Linked DNA regions of Homo sapiens: all the other regions are linked to region 3. The links are contacts of gene promoters, found by promoter capture Hi-C in human tissues and cell types (Jung and others, 2019). All regions are on one chromosome and are shown on one strand. The core of a region is centred on a gene start or on the middle of the fragment in contact, and the rest is flanking DNA. Distances in the headings are between cores, read along the strand shown.

Evidence for each region. Contacts are between HindIII fragments. The study calls those that stand out against the background at their distance.
Region 1: a fragment that was not itself captured here is called in contact with the fragment with the promoter of IFNB1 in region 3 in 1 of the 25 tissues and cell types used here (lymphoblastoid cells).
Region 2: a fragment that was not itself captured here is called in contact with the fragment with the promoter of IFNB1 in region 3 in 1 of the 25 tissues and cell types used here (lymphoblastoid cells).

What each region holds. Positions count from the first base shown.
Region 1 is chr9:20,643,195-20,645,894 of GRCh38, forward strand. No RefSeq gene overlaps it. Among named protein-coding and RNA genes, the nearest start is that of MLLT3, 22 kb to the left of the region's middle. The HindIII fragment of the contact is 3,855 bases long and covers 1-2,700 here.
Region 2 is chr9:20,615,955-20,618,654 of GRCh38, forward strand. All of the region lies in intron 2 of MLLT3 (MLLT3 super elongation complex subunit), which reads right to left. Among named protein-coding and RNA genes, the nearest start is that of MLLT3, 5.2 kb to the right of the region's middle. The HindIII fragment of the contact is 4,882 bases long and covers 1-2,700 here.
Region 3 is chr9:21,076,526-21,079,225 of GRCh38, forward strand. It overlaps IFNB1 (interferon beta 1), which reads right to left and starts at 1,417. Exons shown (of 1, transcript NM_002176.4): 1 at 579-1,417. The coding sequence starts at 1,344. The coding sequence ends at 781. The HindIII fragment of the contact is 10,658 bases long and covers 1-2,700 here.

The DNA of each region.
Region 1 (2,700 bases), core at 27-2,526, 430 kb before region 3:
CTGCTTCCCATGGGGTTGAATGCAAATATGATAGTGAGGTCATTTTGACCACATGGATGAGGGTCGTACCCAGTGGCTGTCATACATTAAAAGGACCTCAGGTTCTCTAACCTACTGGGCCACCATATTATTCCTGGACAATATACACAAAATATTACATGAGAAATAACTCTTTATCTTATTTGAGTATTTTTTGTCTCTTGTTACCTCATTCTAGCCTTTATCCAAGCTAATCCAACTATTATTAAAACCAGGGGAGAATGTGACTAATGAGAAGTATCAGGAGAGTGTGGAATTGTGAAGGCTAGGGAAAAGGACAAGAAAAGAGTAGTCCACCGTGTTACAGGCTTTTCAAGGAGGAAAGGATTCATAAGGCATCACCTCAGGATGTTGAATTTTATTGTGTTTGGATCATTGTTACCTAATCACTTAACCACAGCACCGCACGAAGCAGCTCTATCTCACTAATTAGGCTAAGTCCAGTAAATTTCTTCTAATTTTTGTTTCTGATCTATTTTGGCTGGTGTGAATGTTAAGACTGAGTGTCAACTTGATTGGATTGAAGGATGCAAAGTATTGTTCCTGATGTGTCTCTGAGGGTGTTGCCAAAGGGGATTAACATTTGAGTCAGTGGACTGGGAGAGGCAGATCCACCCTCAAGCTGGTCGGGCACCACCTAATCAGCCGCCAAGCAGAAGTTGTAAACAGCAGACTTGCTGAATCTTCCAGTCTTCATCTTTCTCCCGTGCTGGATGCTTCCTGTCATTGAACATCAGACTCCAAGTTCTTCACTTTTGGACTCTTGGACTTACATGGGTGGTTTGCTGGGGGCTCTCATGCCTTCAACCACAGACTGAAGGCTGCACTGTCGGCTTCCCTACTTCTGAGGTTTGGGGACTCGCACTGGCTTCCTTGCTGCTCAGCTTGCAGATGGCCTACTGTGGGACTTCGCCTTGCGATTGTGTGAGTCAATTCTCCTAATAAACTCCCCTTCATATATACGTATATCCTAGTAGTTCTGTCCCTTTAGAAACCCTGGCTAATCCAGCTAGTAAACATGACTTTGTCTTGGCTAAAAATCTCACCAACACCTCTCATTCAAGAAGAATTTCATCGCTCTAATATTGTATTTCAATAGACACTATAAAAGGTGCTAGTATTGGATCCAGTTTAATTCCAAACTAATTAAGCTTGGACTAGAACCAACTGCAATGAATCAAAGCAATCAGCACCTTTTACCCAAAATTATACAGTAGGTTAATCTAGCAAAAGGAAAGAATACACATTTCAGGCCAGGGTCATTATGTTAGTCAATTATCTTTTTGTGCAGGGGACAGAGACTAAGGGATCATAGGGGAGGATTTATTGGAAAGGTTCTGAGATAGCTCACAGATTCTGAAGAACCAGGGCCGTTTTAGGGCCTTCAGTGACTACAACCAGAATCTTAATGCCACCTCTTTCTTCCTACTGCCTTCTTTCCCTCTGGCTGTCAGCTTTATGCTTCTTGCATATGTACACTTCTGAGAAAAGGGGATACATTTTATGCCTTTAAAGGTTCTAGAATGGGAATCTGGGTCAAAGAATATGGATCTTTTACAAAGTTCTTGATATGTTGCCAAATTGCTTTCTAAAAAATACATACTGGTTTAGACTCTTAATAGGAGTGTACGATCATGCTTATTTTTGAAACAACCTCACCAGCCTTAAATTTTGTATTTTCATAACTTTTCTAGTAGAATAAAATGATATATCATTGAAATTGTTAACTTTTTGTATTATAGCAGTAAAAGTGAATTGTTTCACATATTTATTGGTATTTATATTTCTGCTTCTGAGATTTGTCTGCACATTGTACTTTTTTCCATTGAAGTTTCAGTGTTTTCATTATTGATTTAAACTACTACATGCTTTTTGTCAGATATATTGAAATATTTTTCTACTTTATAATTTACCTTTCATGTTTTGATGGCTTCTGTTGTGTAGACTCGAATTTTTCATGTAGTCAAATATCCGATGTTGATTCCTTTGTGGTTTAGGCCATTGATTTTATACTTAGACAATTATTCCTTCAGCTCAAGAACAAGTAAATAGTTCCCTAAATAAACTCCTAGTTTTTTAACCTGCACTTTGGCAAACTTTTGCCATATTTCAGGCACATGTTTTAGTAGTCATTGGTTTGTCTTACAGTGAACACTTTTCACATTTAATATCTGGAATTTATTTTAGTATATATTGCAAGTTGACAATTTAACTTAAGTTTTCACAGTTAACCAACGTATTGAATGATTTTTCCTTTACATATTGCAATGTGATGTCAACTTTATTATTTACATCAGTTTTATAAGTAAGAGATAGTATATATTTCTGGCTATTTATTTTGTTTCAAAGATATGCTCATAAACATTTACACTAGTAATACTGTGTTTTATGTGCTGTTTTAATGTCTGATGGGGCAAGTTCTTGAATTAGGACTCTTTTGGTTAAAAGAAAGAAAAACTTATTTAAGTTACTTTAAGAAAAAGGGAGAATATCCATGGACCCTGTGCCCAGAGGCAAGGATCTCTTTGACAAGGAGAGAGAGCTACAGAGCCACTCCAATTGCATCCTTTTAGCTGGGAGAATGCTTAATAGCTGTTCACTCTTCCCCTCACCAATTTTCCTTTTTTTTTTTTTAATTTCCTCACTCTTTTCTATTTTTTT
Region 2 (2,700 bases), core at 171-2,670, 460 kb before region 3:
AAATGTTACCTGTATGTTAACATATAATAGGTTACTACCTTTAGACAAATTAATTTCTTTAAAATGTCTCCATTTTAATTTCTAATACACTAAAATTAATAGATATAACTTACACAAAAAAACTCTATGCGTTCTTCAATTTGTAAGTGTAAAAGGATCTTAAGCCCAATAAGTATGAAAACAGTTGATTTACATTTCAACCTCAACTTATGAGGTAATAGTTCTATTTTATCATCATTTCCATAATGCAAATGAGAAAAGAGACACAGAAGTAACTTGTCCAAAACCATACAAGGAGTCTCTTAAACCAACATTTGAATACAAGTCTGTAATTCCTAACCCTAAATTCTCTCCATCTTTAAGCAACAATATCTACCCAAGATATTAAAGATCACTTTTAGATCTTTAACTTTTAGATAGCTACATGCTAATCCCTATTTTTAAAACAATATTCTATATTGGTTTTTTATTCTTTTTCAGTTTTAAAAAGTTATGTGTGCTCATTGAATGTTTTAAATATACGGAGTTAACTTTAAAAAAAAATCAAACACTACAAAAATAACCTCCCATCACCACCACAAGTAGCTACTAAACTACTAGTAAGAGTTTGATGCCCGCTAATGCAAATTTACTTATTTACAGACATACACTTGTATAGACATACGTATACTTATCTGCACAAGCACTTTTTTGAAAAAATGAGATCACAATGATTTAGCAACTTGCCTTATTTCACTTAATTATTCTTGAAGATCTTCCTGCATCTACAAATAGATATACCTCTTTTTATAGATTATCATCATTTAATTGTATCCAGTTGAGGGCCCCTATATGGCTTTCTTCCAAATTTTGACTATTACAAAAACAGTCACAAGAAACATGCTGTATCTTTGTGTACTTGTGAGAACATATTTGTCAGAAAATTCCTAGAAGTAAATTTGCTAGGCTAAACAGTATAAACATTAAAAATCTTAATAGACCTTGCCAATGTTCTCCAAAATACCCCTGCCCGATTTACATTCTCACCCACAGAATATGAGATTTCCACCAACAATTCAGCTTTTAAGTGCCTTGGAAAATTATACTTTATGTGCTTCAAAATGCACAGCAGTAAAACTGTTCTCACTGGTCATCTAAATTTCATACAGAACCCTACACAAATAACACTCGCTGAATCTATCAGAACAGTCACTCATCTTCATTTTGTTCCTTATATCTTTTAAATGACTCTGAAGAGAAAATATACCAGATGCACACAACGTCTTCAGCTAGTAAGCCCTCAAGTATTAGTTACCTTGATAAAAACTTACCCAAATTATTTCAGAAGACCATTTAACACAAATCAAAACTATGCAGTAAAGCTGGCCTCATACACTTAAAGGAAAATTGTTAGAGTGGATTTATTAAGCTTTATCTGCCCACTCAAAGGACTAAGGCTACAAATAAAAAGCTATCAAATCCTACCAGTGGCCAAATTAGCTTCCATAAAATAATAAGCAACAGATTTCATATCATAAATGTCAGTGAAACAAATTGCAATAGTAAGGATGGCTGTAACTGGAAAAAAAGTTCACTCAAATTCACATCATACTAAAAACAAAAACATTAATATTTTAAAAGAAATGTTTTGAATGTGACTATTCATTTCAGTCATATCAGACTAGTACAAATCTTTGGTACTAATAAATAAGATATTGTCTTTTTTTGCAGGTAAATAGTTTAAAAATGCATCATACTCTGACCTACCTGTTTTGTCATGGCTAATAGACATTCCAGGCTTCACCATTTCATCAAAATCTCTTTTCTAAGATTTTGTGCCATTAGTTTTAAATTGAAGGTCTCCCACCCATCTTTGTGACAGAGTAAAACCTCATTAATTCAAATCCAATTAGCTCAATTCTGAAATGGTATACATAATTCTCATTAAGCAACAAGTTAAAAATACTATAATTTTTTCTCCTACAAATTCTAATATTACTGTGAAGTAAAGGAAATCAACCTGAAAATCAATTCACTTTTCCAAACCAAAGATTTACAAAACTAAGGACTCTTTCATCTTTGTGGCTGAGCAGTTCATCCTCAGTCCTAAGGCTCATCTCTGTTTAGCAGCTACTGTATACAGTGAAAGTGATTTAGATTGTCACTATAGCCAACACAGCTTATTTATTATAGAATATGAGCATTTCTTTTAAAGATCTTATAACTCAGATTTCTCACAAATTCATATTTTCAGTTTCTCCAATTTCCAATTGGTAGAATTTTACTCTATCACTTATAGATCTACAATATAGCTAACATAACACTTTAAAAGGTACTGGAAGTAGACATACAAATTCTTGGCATTCTTATTCTATATTTATTCTTATCATTTTGAAAGACTTTATAAGCCAAAAAATAAGTCCCAGGATTAAGTGGCATGTTTGGTGTTGCTTGAACTTACAACTATTCCCAATGAACAGAGAAACCTTCTCTTGCAATCTGAATCATGTGTAATTACAGTATGACAAGGTCTCTCCTGGGTGATGTAAGCTGGCACTTTTCCCAGGACTTGTCACATCATGGGAAGCACGCATACAAATAAAAATCCAAAAATAAACATTTTAAAACAATGGCTTATAGACTGCATAGAGAACCTCCACAGTTGAGTATAAAAATTGAGGAATCCAACCAACAAGCAGACATCTCTCACCAGAGACCTCT
Region 3 (2,700 bases), core at 167-2,666:
CAGGGACCCACAGCTCCCCTAAGATACCCACACATCTTGGCTGTCCCATGATGAGCAGAATAAAGAGATTGCTGCTTAATAGTGTCATGGAAGTAAATGGGACTTCTCACCCTTAAGCTTGCAGGGATGGTGGGGGGCACATAATTATTTAAAAATCTTTCGAGGAGCAAAGTATCCCCCAAATAACGTGGGAAGGTTAGGGAGAACACAAAAGCTGACATATTCCTCTGGCTATTCCTGATGGCCAGCTCAATTCTAACTTTATGATGAGAGAATCTGGAGCACACAGTAGGAGGAATGGGAACCCCAGGTTTAGTTCCAGACCCTCCAGCTTTCCTTTTCTCTTTTAATCCCACAGCAGTTCATGCCATATTTATTCCCCCATAAGGTTCAGGTCCCCTTATTGTCTCTTACCTTATATATTCCACATGGCTTTCTTGAATTTTAAATTCCTTAAAGGCAGGGGCCAGAAAGTATACTACTTTGCAGGTATATTTTAAAAAGAACAACTAATAGGTACTTGGCAATTTTATAATATGGATGGTTATATAAATCAAATCGAAATTAAAACTGCCATGTTGACTTTTGCACCAAAAATAATTTATTTTCCAAAATAAAATTTAAATAAATAAAAATAACTCATAATTTAATAAAAATTTCAAAATCTTCTAGTGTCCTTTCATATGCAGTACATTAGCCATCAGTCACTTAAACAGCATCTGCTGGTTGAAGAATGCTTGAAGCAATTGTCCAGTCCCAGAGGCACAGGCTAGGAGATCTTCAGTTTCGGAGGTAACCTGTAAGTCTGTTAATGAAGTAAAAGTTCCTTAGGATTTCCACTCTGACTATGGTCCAGGCACAGTGACTGTACTCCTTGGCCTTCAGGTAATGCAGAATCCTCCCATAATATCTTTTCAGGTGCAGACTGCTCATGAGTTTTCCCCTGGTGAAATCTTCTTTCTCCAGTTTTTCTTCCAGGACTGTCTTCAGATGGTTTATCTGATGATAGACATTAGCCAGGAGGTTCTCAACAATAGTCTCATTCCAGCCAGTGCTAGATGAATCTTGTCTGAAAATAGCAAAGATGTTCTGGAGCATCTCATAGATGGTCAATGCGGCGTCCTCCTTCTGGAACTGCTGCAGCTGCTTAATCTCCTCAGGGATGTCAAAGTTCATCCTGTCCTTGAGGCAGTATTCAAGCCTCCCATTCAATTGCCACAGGAGCTTCTGACACTGAAAATTGCTGCTTCTTTGTAGGAATCCAAGCAAGTTGTAGCTCATGGAAAGAGCTGTAGTGGAGAAGCACAACAGGAGAGCAATTTGGAGGAGACACTTGTTGGTCATGTTGACAACACGAACAGTGTCGCCTACTACCTGTTGTGCCAGAGCAAAGGCTTCGAAAGGTTGCAGTTAGAATGTCCTTTCTCCATGGGTATGGCCTATTTATATGAGATGGTCCTCTCTCTATTCAGAGGAATTTCCCACTTTCACTTCTCCCTTTCAGTTTTCCTATGTCATTTACATTTTAGTAGTTTCTAAAACTCTTTATTTAAGCTCCTATCTTATGATATATATAATAGGGAAAAAGATTTACAAACTGTGAGGTTTTCTAATGTTTTTTAAAGTTTCAGTGAATGACTAAAGCAAATTGTAAAACAAGACTTGGGAGAAAGCAAAGGAAAGCAAACGACCTGAGAATTCAAGAACCTCAAAACACTAAAAGATACAGTTGGTCCTTCCTATCCATAGGTTCTGTATCCGTGGATTCTACTGACTGTAGATGGAAAATATTTTTTAAAAATACAATAAAAATAATAATACAACAACAAAAAATAATGTAAATTTTAAAGATACAGTGTTACAGCTATTTAGCATTTATATTGTATCAGGTATTATAAGTAATCTAGGGATGATTTAAAATATACAGAAATACATGTGCAGATTATATGCAAATACTGCAACGTTTTATAAGAGGGAATTGAGCATCCTCTGATTTTGGTATCTGTGGAGGCAGCGGGATGGTGGTCCTAGAACCAATCTTCTTTGGATACTGAAAGACTGAGAGATAGATTTACTGAAAAGTCAATCAGGGAATAGTAGCTGAAACTGCAAGGAGTTTTGCCCAATATGATAATAGATTAGTGTGAGAGGGCCTTGGAAACTTCTGAAAGGCACTGGAATAGTCTAGGGTATAAGAAATTTTCAAACCAACCAGTCACAGCCCTTTTGATCCTACACAGAGGAGAAACTGCCACAAGTGGAATCACACTTCAGCAGGATATAAACAACACAGACAAGGATAGAGAAGGCCCAACCAGGGTGGGATGGAGAACTCAGAAGGCAGGCTGCTATGTTTTTGACCATTTCACAAAAGCTAACAGAAGAGGGAGCTCTGTGAAGTTAGAAAAACCGCCCTGAACCACTTCCTGGTTCAGGAAAAATAAGCTCTTACAAGACCAAACAACAGAAAAGTATTAAGATGGAATCTCATACAAAGTTATTAATAGAAAAAAGAGAAGGCTTTGGGAAGATGGCTGATTAGAAGCAGTTGTGGTCTGTGGCACTCTGCTCTTTGGCCAGGATGGTCTGACTGCCCTGAGCCTGTCATGCTGTGAGAAAGCCCAAACTAGCTTACAAGGAGAGACCATGAAAATTGGCAGTGTATTTCAAAATTTAAAATTTCAAGCAATGAGATTGTTC